Regions from separate parts of the Homo sapiens genome. Here region 1 is linked to region 2. The links are contacts of gene promoters, found by promoter capture Hi-C in blood cells and fetal thymus (Javierre and others, 2016). All regions are on one chromosome and are shown on one strand. The core of a region is centred on a gene start or on the middle of the fragment in contact, and the rest is flanking DNA. Distances in the headings are between cores, read along the strand shown. Region 1 overlaps FANCC (FA complementation group C). Region 2 holds the start of FBP2 (fructose-bisphosphatase 2).

What was found. Contacts are between HindIII fragments. The CHiCAGO score rates a contact against its expected background, and 5 or more counts as called.
Region 1: a contact is called between a fragment that was not itself captured here and the fragment with the promoter of FBP2 in region 2, in 1 of 17 cell types (M2 macrophages). The highest score is 5.9, in M2 macrophages.

What each region holds. Positions count from the first base shown.
Region 1 is chr9:95,127,807-95,134,106 of GRCh38, reverse strand. All of the region lies in intron 8 of FANCC (FA complementation group C), which reads left to right. It also overlaps a transcript of AOPEP not described here. Among named protein-coding and RNA genes, the nearest start is that of MIR3074, 45 kb to the right of the region's middle. RefSeq lists an enhancer at 1,424-1,926 and silencers at 2,446-2,740, 3,886-4,180. The HindIII fragment of the contact is 8,135 bases long and covers 682-6,300 here.
Region 2 is chr9:94,591,179-94,597,431 of GRCh38, reverse strand. It overlaps FBP2 (fructose-bisphosphatase 2), which reads left to right and starts at 3,608. Exons shown (of 7, transcript NM_003837.4): 1 at 3,608-3,875. The coding sequence starts at 3,706. RefSeq lists an enhancer at 5,599-6,141. The HindIII fragment of the contact is 4,350 bases long and covers 1-3,973 here.

The sequences.
Region 1 (6,300 bases), core at 3,500-5,999, 540 kb before region 2:
CTCACCTGTACCTCAGGCTGCACACACGGATCCCACCTGACTTGAAAGTTTACCACGATAGAAGAGAAAGGAAGACGTGTATATTAAGACTGAGAGAGCCCAAACAGATTTCTTAAGGATAATTACTACCTAACCTTACCATCCGGAAGAGTCATATATTAAGGCAAGAAATAGGAATGCACCTTATTTTAAAATGGTTGCAGTACAATTCAAAATAAATCATGACTTTCAGAAGCCCTCTGACAGCCCATTCCTGGTGATTCAAGGTCATAAATTACCTTTATTGTCTGCTAAATCTATTACTAACTTACATGTGCATACTAGGATTTCAGTTTCTCTGGTCCCTTTTCAGTGGCAAAATGATAGTAACTGGGCTATATGCTTGCTTCCAGGGTGCTTATGACATTTTCCTTAAGTCTTCTCCCTATTGAAAAATTCTAGTCCCATTGCCTTTTTTCCAGCCTTTCCTTAATCCTTGGATTCTTCCCTGAACCTTCTCCATGTCCTTTTTGCCTGTGGCCCTCATGCCTGAGCAGCACTGTGGTGAGCACAGCAGATGCAAGACAGAGAACGCAGGCCGTCCCATTGCACATAACTGTATAATGCTCAGTCTCCAGTTTGTAGTTTACAGTAATCTCCCACGAGTCACACAGCTTTGAAGTCAGTTGACTTACAAAAGCTTTTATCGGGATCATGTGTGCAGAAATTCAGAGCTTCCATTATGGCTAAAGGGGGATTCTAGAGGGTGTTATTTGGTTTAATTTATTGTGGCATTGGCAGGATGTGACCTCTCTGTGCCTCATGGTTCAAGGACGTAATTACAATACAGACGATGGCTGGAAGCCCCTGATTGGTGTGGGCTGTTCTCCTCAGCATCCTGGGCCTGCAGTGCCAGAAAGCCAGGCAGGCCGCAATAGGCCTGTGACGTGGCTAAGTGATTGCAGGGGTAACCTGAAGAGCCTGCTTCCTAATTGCATCATCTGATTCATTTATCGCAGTGCAGTATCTTGGTGCAGTGACAGGACTGTACAGAAGTATCAGAGAGATCTCTAAGACTCAGATAGCACGAGACTGCTGCGCTGTGCTCCAGAGGAAACCTGATGCCTATTACATTAGAGTTGGATTCTGAGAGTAATTAAAGTGTGATGGTCTACATAACTTGTGTTTTATATAGAGCACTGTTAATTATATTTCTCTCTCTTGGGACTATGCAGAATGAGTCCTGGAAATTCTATAGTTACCAAAATGTAACAAAAACAAAAGATAAAAGTGTGGTACAGGTTGTACAAAGTGAAATGACCTTCCCAAATGTTCTTTGGCCTCTTGGACTCGCAGGTCTGATATTTTCCATTAAGACCATGAATAATGAGGGATTAGTCTCTTATTACCTGAGTTCCAAATGACTATGTATGTATTTAACATCTAAAATAAAAGAAAAGTTTTCAAAACCCGTTCACTTTTGAGGCTTCCCCTTTGGCTTCCGTGCGGTGGACTGGACTGCTGTCGAGTCATGCTGTCTGCCACGGTTGGTAGCTCCTACATCAAGTGAGGTATTAGCCCTAGATTGTCATTTACTGTACAGACTGAAACTTTTCAAAAGCAGATGGTCTTGTGTTTTCCTTGACAGCATGGGCACGGGAAGACCATAATCCATAGCTTCAGACCTGACCTTAAAAACCGATGTCACCGACAGCAGTGAAAGCCACTTGTTAATTATGCAGCCTTCTTGGCATTGTTCGGTTTCCCAAGGCTGGCCCCAAATTAGAAGGATGTTATGTTTTCCAGTTACAATTTTGTTTGTGGAGCCCAGAAAGCTATTCTTTGGATTCCACATTGGAATGAAAAGTGTCTGCAGGGTGTCAGGGTGGCACTGTGCTTGGCTGGCAAGCTGCATGCCAGGGCCGGAAGGTACCCGATTCTCATGCCCTCCCATTTGCTGGCAGAGCCCGCCCGCAGCTGGGTCCAGAGGAGCTAGCCTCACCTTCCCAGGCAGACTTGTCCCCAAAAGAAAGGAGCAGAGGAGGCGCCCAGGAGGCAGAGTTGTTTCTGCTAAGATTTGATATCAGAATATGCTTCATTTTCTCTCCTACCTAAAAATCTTTATGGCTTAATTCAAAAGATTACTTTATCTAATAAGAACTTAAGAATAAAAAGCATCTAGATACCTCAGTATCCTCCTCAATATGGGATAGGTTGTGTTTTTTTCCCTCATTCTCCAGGTAGCAATTGTAGCACTTCAGAAAGAAAAAGAAACTTCCTTTACACAGACTCCCAGTATGCAGCTCCTCCTTGGTAAAATATTGTGCTGAAGAGTTCACTCTACATCCTGGGTGATATTGTCAGTTTGCTGTGCTTAAGTAGCTTTTCACTAACATGCCAGGGTTTTCTTTTCCTGCTTTTTCAGTCTTTTCGGCACTTCCTTTTGAGCTCTTTAATGTGGTGCATGTAATTGAACAAGAGCTGAAGTAGATAATTTAGCAGTAGTCCAGTAGTGCTGGCTGATGTGTATGGCTAAAAGCTGGGAGGTTCTGCATCTTGGACTGGAGTTGCACTTTCCAGAATTAGCCTCAGGGGGGCACCAGATCCTCCAGCATAGTCTCTGTGAAGAAAGAGGCCCACGTTGCGAGTTTCCTTGCAATGGAATTGCAGTTGGGGATGCAGACCTTGTGGCCAGAGATGAAGGGAGAGAGGGAAAAACCCAAAAACAAAGCAGGGGTGGACGTAGGGGTCATTGCCACTCAGGCTGAGCTGTGAAGCAGCAGGGGGCTGAGGAGCTTTCTTCCAGCTTGGGCTACCCGGGCTAATTGGATAGAGGCCACTGGGCAAGGCTAGAAGGACTTCAGGCAGGGGAGGGGGTGCTGGGGATCCTCTGTGTCCAAACACAGAGAAGAGCACATGTAAATTTAAGACGCAAAAGTACATTTGGTACTTGTTAAGTTCTTAAGCCCAGGAATGACAGATTTATCACTAATTAAACAATAATTGCATTATGGAGTACTGAAAAAATTGTTTGTGTATAAACAACATCTGGTAAAGATTAAAAAGAAAGAATAATTTTTCCGAGCTCAAATTTGTTAAAAGGAACCTGAATGTTTTAAAACAAAATAGATCTGAAAATGTAAAAGGGATATTTAGAGTCTTATGTTTAGTATTTTGAAAATAGAAAAGAAGCAAATGGCATAATAAAAAATACATATTTATAAAGGTGCCTCATTGTACATGATAGATGTGAAGGTTTTGTATAAATAGGTTTTTCTCAAGCCAAATCATTTTTCACTTCAATAGAGGAGTTCACTGGTGAAATGACTCTTATGGAGAATCTTCTTTTTAAGAAGAAAGGTATTTTGTAGTGAATATGCACATATTAACAACAAGGGCTTCCCACTGTGGAGAGAACAGTGGCTCGGAAACAGCTACACGGTGGGACGGGATTGTCCGGCTGCTGGGTAAACTGGAGGGGAAGCTGCCCATCAGCTGATTCTTTAAATGACCCATTTCCTAAGTAAATATTTAAGCTACATGCAAGTACATGAAAATACCAGGAAAGAATCTATTCCAGGCTTAATGAACTTCAGCTTCTCTGTCATCTGCTATTTCCTTCTTTATTTTTAAGGCGAATATATCTATGAAAGGTGATAGATGGAAAGCACTTGATAATTTTTTCTGTTCCTTCACTGCCTTTTTATTTTTTCTAAAAGGGATTTGCTTTTGTCTGTGAGTTACCTTAAATCATAGTATAATTTCCCTTTTTGGTTTGTTTTCTGTCCCTCTCCTTTTCCCTATTCTCTCTCTCTCTCTCTCTCTCTCACACACACACACACACAGAATCAGCAAATGACAGAAAGAAATGCTTCTTCCTGAGAATTCTGTTCTTCTTGTTCTCAGGCCTCTTTCAAGTGGCAAGTGGCTTGTAATAATCATTGGTGAGTTGGTATGAAAATAACAGCTTAAGTAAACATCAAGGACCGGGCACAAGAGCCTGTGTAATTTGCACAGTTCATGGTGCAGAGTGACAAGTTGGCCTCTCCCTTGCCTCTCTTCCAAAACAGGCACTGAGACCATGGTTATTGTGTGTTGATTCCATGTTGACTTTGTCTTCCCTTGTGTTTTGAGGGATGAAGATGGGCTTTCTTTCTAGGTGGAGGGGAGATAAACAATGCAATTCTGGGTAGCCATGAGGGGAGATCAGAGGGAAAGCTCTTGTTAGCCCAAGGGGATGCACACCCAGCAGAACAATCGGGTCTATACAAGAGGGAGGGCAGAACCCAGAGCTCTCCATCTTCGCTCCCTAGTCATCCTGGGCATTCAGTGAAAAGCCTGAGGGGGGAGATAAGGAGGGAAGGACAAGACTCATGTTATTGAAGACCTCCTGCTGACATAGCTCCCCTCGAGTTGAAATGATCTGCCTGTGGAAATTGTTAGGCCAGATGGAGAAGAGAGAGCTTGAGAAGGAACAGATTTTGGTAGGATGGAGAAAAACAAACAGATGGAAACCACAAAAGGTTTATTTTATTTCCCCGCTTTTATAGAAAAGATAATGGCCGCAGTCATGGGGCTTCAGAGCCCTGGCTTGCAGCGTGACCTCTGGTGTGTTACCGGAGTGCCCCACCTTACAAATAAAACAGGATCAGAGGTTAGATGCCTGCGTCATCACTCATGAAGATGCTACAGAGATTTAGGGGGGAAGATACGGCTTCCAAAGAAGCGTGTATTAAAACCTTAATTCTATTTGGAAGATTATCTTGATAAGAAAAGCAGCTTAAGATTGCTTTTGTGATTTGATGTCGCTGGGACATATGCCTGACCTGTAGTACTCTAGTCCTCATGAGGGGACTCACTGACCCTGAAATTATGTGCTCAAAAAGTATAAAGAGTGTCATTTTAAAAGCCATCGGTGAGGGGTGCAGATGAGAAGGAGCAGTTCACAGCTGTAGGGGTAGCAAGGGAGACTGGTTTTCTTTTTTTTCAGTGAGGTCAGGAGATCGAGACCATCCTGGCCAACACGGTGAAACCCCATCTCTACTAAAAATACAAAAATTAGCCAGGTGTGGTGGCACGTGCCTGTAATCCCAGCTACTCAGGAGGCTAAGGCAGGAGAATCTTTTGAACCCAGGAGTTGGAGGTTGCAGTGAGCCAAGATCACCACTGCACTCCAGCCTGGCAACAGAATGAGACCCTGTCTCAAAAAAAAAAAAAAGGAGACTGGTTTTCAAATCAAAATCTCTGCCGTTGCTGTTTCTGCAGGTTCCCCTGCCTCCTGGCCTCTTACCTGTTTTAAAAGCTAAAATGGGTTGTGGAAGCAGGCTGAGAGTAGCCAAGGGTCTGAAATATTTGGAAAGAAAGAAATCTAAGAGGAGAGTCCATCTGTATGGGGAAGAACAAGCAGATTCCACACAGCCAGCAGGCATTTAAAACATTGGATTGAGCGATTTTGCTAGAAAACAGCGCACAGAAGAGGAGCAGATCTAAGCTCTCACTCTCTTCTAACAAACTGAGTAAGAGCTGTCTTCCTTGCTCCCCCAGTGGTTTTCATAGTAGCCCTAATCTACATCTGATCATCATTTTCTTTGCTGTTTGGAAATCCCTATAATTAGTATTGAATGATTCTCTACTAGCATCAAACCTATAGAATGGCTCTGGGATAGTTTGACCATTTAGAAAAAAGAAATTTAATTTTACCATTTTCAAGTTTCATCTTACTTTCTATCAACGCATTTCCAAGCTCTTATCTGTCTGCCTGTGGGCACATAACAGTGCTATTTGATCTTAAACACTCTTATTCAATAGGCATGTTGTTGTACAAACTTTGAAAATTGCTCTGGCAAACTTAGATGAATCACATTTCTTCAAGACATACGGTTGCTTTTCCCTTGTTTTATTTTTTCATTATGAATACATAGAAACTTTTATATTTTCCGTGCTTATATCCGGTGACCTCTTAATAACTTTTATTATTTACAGTGAGACTGGGCATCAGGAGATTAACTGACATGCCTAAGTTCGAAGCCACGAAATAACCTGCCTCTCCTCTCTTGAACGGTGGTCCTGCCAAATTATTTTCTTGCATAGATAATGAATTTATCTGTAAGAATATCAAGTTGGTTCCTTTTAGATAAAAATGCACATCAGTGAAGGATGAGGGAGCATAGATTATTTAAAGAGTAGGACATTTTAACTTGCAAATTAGAAATCTTGAAATAATTAAAAGGAGATTTATCCTGTCCTGAAAAAGTGGCAGAGCTCCTGCCTGGAGCCCGGCGGGTCCAGCAGTGCTGACCAGTGGACGCTAGATGGCGCGGG
Region 2 (6,253 bases), core at 2,359-4,858:
TACCCAAGTCTTTACCTTACCCTTAGCAACTGACAGAAGTGAAGCCATTGCAGAAGGCTCTCTTGCTAATAACTTTTTTTCCCCAGCATATTTCTCAATGTGACAGTATTGTTCTGAATGATGAAGGCAACCACTTTTCATTTGGATTCAGAAACACTTGGAAGCAGTGATAATATGTCTTTTCTTTTCTTCTTCTTCTTTTTTTTTTTTTTGAGATGGAGTCTCACTCTGTTGTCCAGGCTGGAGTGCAATGGTGCGATCTCGGCTCGCTGCAACCTTCGCCTCCCAGGTTCAAGCAATTCTCCTGCCTCAGCCTCCTAAGGAGCTAGGACTACAGGTGCACACCACCATGCCCAGCTAGTTTTTTGTATTTTTAGTAGAGATGGAGTTTCTCCACGTTAGCCAGTATGGTCTCGATCTCCTGACCTCGTGATCCGCCTGCCTTGGCCTCCCAAAGTGCTGGGATTACAGGTGTGAGTCACTGCACCTGGCCGAAAATGTGTGTTTTTAAAACTAAGTGAAGATAATACAGTTAGGGATCATGAAGTCTAATCCCATTTTTTTTTTTTTTTTGAGACAGACTCTCAATGTCACCCAGGCTGCAGTGCAGTGGTGCCATCTTGGCTCACGGCAACCTCTGCCTCCCAGGTTCAAGTGATCCTCCCACCTCAGCCTCCTGAGTAGCTGGGACTACAGGTGCACGCCACTACACTGGCTAATTTTTGTATTTTTTTTATAGAGATGGGGTTTCACCATGTTGGCCAGGCTGGTCTTGAACTCCTGGGCTCAAGTGATCCCCCTGCCTTGGCCTCCCAAAGTGCTGGGATTACAGGTGTGAGCCACTGTGCTCAGCTGGATCTCATTTTTAAATTGAGGCATCTGAGTCCCGGAGGGCTTTGATTCCCGGCCCAGGCTTCTTTCCTTTGGGTATAGATTTAGCAATACTCTGGTCTGACCCAGGCAGATGTTCTTGTTTTATTATACATAGCGATCTCTCTTGTTAGAACTCAATTCTAAGCTCATGTCTTATTCTATGTTCTAATTGTGTTAACAGGCATATGTGCATTGTCGTGTATGGTGCTCAGTCATCTAGGGAGGAGGAGCATCCTAGAATGGGAGAAAGTATCATATAAGAGAAAGAACGCTAACCTCAGGTAGCTCTGGGCTGAGATTCTAGCTAGTAGCTGTGTTATCCCTAGGAAGCCCTAGTTTCCTCATCTGTAAAAATAGCACTACTGGATCAAATAATTGGGTGGATTAATGTGTGCCACATACTGAGATAGAGGTGTCATCTGTCTCCATCTATCCATTCACCTCAGTGTTGAAAGTTGAAATAGATTGAATGAAAATCACAAAAAGGGTATGGGATCCTGTATTTGTTCTATTAAGAGGTAGCATATTTCTTGGTAAGTGAAGATAGACCCCCCCACACCCCCGCGAAAAGAATTAGAACATTGTCACATAGCAGTTCCTCTTCTGGGGTTGTATCTTACTGAAGCACTTGCCCCAATATAAGGATGTTTGTTGCATTACTATTTGAGGAGCCAACTTACCTAAATTATCTGAATGTCCGCAAGCTGGAATGATCCAAGCCTCTGTGTGCTGACTTGGACATCTTCCCATAATATTTGCTTTCTGGAACTAAAAACATATATAAATAACATATATATATATTTGGGATCTTAAACCTGCATATTAAGATCTACTGGTAGATGTTAGTTTTATCTGAAAGTTTCCACATAAATTGTGAGCACCAATGCCCATCTCAACCATTTGGTTGCCCTCCTCAACCAGTTTGGTTGATCCAATGCCAGCGCCCAGCTCCCACTGCAGGCATCACCACACGACCCTGATCTGGCAGACGCTGTGCACAGGGACGTCTACGGGGGTGGGAGGATGGGTTCCAGGGAAACTGTTCTTTCTTAATAAAAAGGAACTGATGTGGTTGGAGCTGCCCTTGCTCCCCTCTTTGCATCTTCAACGTGGGCCAGATGTTCAGAACTGCAGTGACATTTTGTGCCCCCAGGATGCCAAGCAAGGGGCACAATCCAGCCGACCAAGGATGACAGAGACGAGACAGAGAGGGGTCCCAGTGGAACCAAGAACAGCTGAATGAACACCAGCCACCACCTCCTAGTGCACTCCTGGTCTATGAGGAAATAAACCCCCACGTGTAAATTGCTCTAGTTGTTCTATTTCTTGCAGCTGAACACATTCTAATCGACATAACTGTCAGGGGAAAAGACCTTCAGAGAAATGTGCATGTTGTACTGTTTTGTGAAATGAGATTATGTATGATTGCACAATAGTTGTGAGCACATTGAAAGACTGGAAGGGCGGCTGGGCGTGATGGCTCACGCCTGTAATCCCAGCACTTTGGGAGGCCGAGGCGGGCGGATCACGAGGTCAGGAAATCGAGACCATCCTGGCTAACACGGTGAAACCCCGTCTCTACTAAAAATACAAAAAATTAGCCAAGCGTCGTGGCAGGCGCCTGTAGTCCCAGCTACTCGGGAGGCTGAGGCAGGAGAATAGCGTGAACCTGGAAGGCGGAGCTTGCAGTGAGCCGAGATCACGCCACTGCACTCCAGCCTGGGCGACAGAGTGAGACTCCATCTCAAAAAAAAAAAAAAAAAAAAAAAAAAAAACTGGAAGGGCAATAATAGGTAACAAAGTACTGAGCACCTACTATACTAGGTACATCTCATTGCAGCCACTCTATAAGATGGATGCTTCACGGTTATGCTCATTTAAGAGTGAGACAACTGAGGTTCCAAGGGGTTTAATAACTTTCTCAAATCATGCAACCAACAGATAGCTAGCTTGGGACTCACAGCCAGGTCTGGCTGGCCCTAGAGAAAGTGCTTCCACCACCATATGCACCCCACCAGTGCCTACTGGCTGCACAGACCGCCACCAGCCCTAGCAGCAGTGATTTCTGGAGAGTGGGATGGGAGAATGGGCTGGTGGTGAGGAGGTTTGTCTTTATCCACTTCTTTAGTGTTTCCTTTTTAACAAGCAATTTTTGTTACAAAAGTGGACATCCAGAGATATTGACAAAATAACACTGGTGCCAGGAACTGTGCTAGGAATATAATAGTTTTCTTCCGGATCTGGATCTCTACTGTGGATATCCACTGGTCATACATGCCTACTGGAAATAAAAAGCATTCTTTCCTAACTTATTCCAAACCCTGGCTAAAGGAATTCTGGGGTTGCCATTATGTTACTATGTGACCTACGTCCCAGATAAGGAACCTGCGAATCTGCCACCTCCGCCCTCGGGAGAGCCAGGCCCTGCAGTCACTATATGTGAAGAATCCTTTGGAGCCTGGAATAAGAGGGTTTTATGCATCATTTTTTAATCAACTGGATTTCTCACCTCCCACCTGTGCCTAAATGGTGGCTTCTTGGTATCTTGAAAGGGGGTGCTCAGCAGGAGAAAGCAGCTCCATGTTTCTGGGCAGCCCGTCCTATTTACAGACTGCTGCGGCTCCCTGGCAGCTGCCACAGTCCCCGAGGCCAGAGGGAGTTCCTTGAGGGCCCCAGCAGTTGTTTGAGTCATGTGTTTTGGGCCCTTTTCCTTAGAGATCCTGGCAGGGCCAGCACAGATTTCTTATCGGCTTCCACACTGCGGAGCTGCAGCCCTCAGAAGTAAGCAAGGTTTCCTGCCGGGAGAAAAGGATTTGAAGCATTCCAGCCAAAATGACGGACAGAAGCCCCTTCGAAACCGACATGCTCACCCTGACCCGCTACGTTATGGAAAAGGGGCGTCAGGCCAAAGGGACTGGGGAGCTCACCCAGCTGCTGAACTCAATGCTGACGGCCATCAAAGCCATCTCCTCGGCTGTGCGCAAGGCCGGTCTGGCCCACCTGTGAGTCCTGGGGAGCAGGCATGGGGCACAGAGCACCCCAGGCCCAGGCAGGGGTGTGGGAGCTGCAGGTGCTTTGGCAAGAAACTGGGTCCAAAGCTTATTGGCCCTGTGTGCCCTAGATGGAAGCTGCATTTCAAGTTCCTATCATGTGTGCTTTGATAAAGGGGCCTTTGACTTGTTTTGAGAAAGGAACGAAAACATGCTATGAAGAAATACACATATAATTTTTCCAGTTATTATAATGATACCAAGTGCAGTGGCTTGTTGCATTAAAATATGTATTGTGTTATCATGACTTGTACTTGCACAGAGAGAGTCTCACTGGAACAAAGAAGTAGAGGGGTGACGTGAAATATCTCTTTATGCCTCTTGCAGACATGAGTGTTTTATTGTAATAAGCTTTGCAAATATGTTAGGAGCTGGAAATTATGTACGACATAGGAAGCTTGGTAGAGCCCCTTCCTGCATCTGCTCTCTCATCATCTAAAGGAGTGTTTTGCTGGCTACGTGTTTTATTTCTTCTCTGTGACTCTTTCTTTATCTTCACCTCCACTTGGTGTGCAGGAAGCCGGGAGGTGCTAGTCCTGGGAGGGGAGCGCAGAGGTTTCTTCCACAGGGTTCTCTTTGGTGCTTTATCCGAGCATAGATGAGGCCAGGTTCACATTACACTGCTGATGGTCACAGCCCAGTGTCCAGTTTAAGTCTGTAATAAAAAGAATCCGGTGGCCAGGCACGGTGGCTCCTGTCTGTAATCCTGGCACTTTGGGAGGCCAAGGTGGGTGGATCATGAGGTCAAGAGATCAAGACCATCCTGGCCAACATGTTGAAACCCTGTCTCTACTAAAAATACAAAAATTAGTTGGGTGTGGTGGCGGGCGCCTGTAGTCCCGGCTACTCGGGAGGCTGAGGCAGGAGAATCGCTTGAACCTGGGAGATGGAGGTTGCGGTGAGTCGAGATCGTACCACTGCACTCCAGCCTGGGTGACAGGACGAGATTCCATCTCAAAACATACAAACAAACAAACAAAACCCCAGCTTTCTTTGGGCTTCCCTTGTAGTAATTCCAGGGGAGGTCCTCTCAGGAGCTGAAGGAACACATATTTTGGGGATGAAAGAGACTCAAAATGAGGAGCTAACAAAGTCCAATCATTTAAAATATTTACTCTGAGCAATTAAGTGCTTTTAACACAAAAAGTGATAGCATTAGATTACAAGATGTAATTATCATTTGATCACCACAGACTGTATTTATTTAGGGGTGGTGACCCAGTAGCAGGACCCAGGTTAACGGTGCATTATCCTTGCTTTTTTCCTGTGGGTGGATGCTTCAGCTCTGTTTTTACCTCATTTGGCAATAACAGCCACGCTCTGCATTTAATCGCCTTCCAGAATGTGAGGGCAGGCGGTGCCCTGTTCTGCTCCTGTGGGTGACAGCCCTGCTGAGTGACGGTAGACAGGGACTTTGCCTCTCCCTGTGCGGACCCTGCTATCCTCAATGCGGTTGCCTGAGTCCATCTCAGGGTGATTCATCCACATAAATTGGGCTCCCCCTCTGTGCAGGGCTCTTGGCTAGGCAGTGGCTGCCATGGTAGGGGTCTTGCTTATCTGCTGCAAAACTCTGACTTTATGGCGGTTGAGCAAGGAGACAAAGTGGCCCTAGGAACTGGATAATTGAGGTGCTTATTAATTTGGCATTTCCTACCGTGTGATAATGGGCGTGATTTACTCTTGCTAGGACCTTAGATTCCCTTTGTGAAATGGAGAGTATAGTAGCATCCCTAACTCTTAGGGTTGTTGCAGAGTTAGCGAGCGCATGTGATGACGATTTCAACTGTGCCGGCCCCGTAAGACACGCACAGTGCCTGTCACTACCGCGGTTCCAAGCCCAGACCAGATTTGCCTGTGCCTGAGCCGTCAATGACCACTGGCGGCATTTGAGGAGCCTTTCAGCCCCCCACTGCACTGTGGGAGCCACTTTCTGGGCTGGCCAAGGCTGGAGCCCACTCCCTCAGCTTTCAGGGAGGTGTGGAGGGAGAGGTGCGAGCGGGAACTGGGGCTGCGTGCGGCGCTTGCGGGCCAGCTGGAGTTCCGGGTGGGCGTGGGCTTGGCGGGCCCGCACTCCGAGCAGCCAGCCAGCCCTGCTGGCCCCCGGCAATGGGGGACTTAGCACCCGGGCCAGTGGCTGCGGAGGGTGTACTGAGTCCCCCAGCAGTGCTGGCCCACTGGCGCTGCGCTCGATTTCTCGCTGGGCCTTAGGTGCCTTCCCGCGGGGCAGGGCTCGGGACCTGCAGCCCGCCATGCCTGAGCCTCCCATCCACTCCATGGGCTCCTGTGCGGCCCGAGCCTCCCCGACGAGCGCCACCCCCCGCTCCACAGCG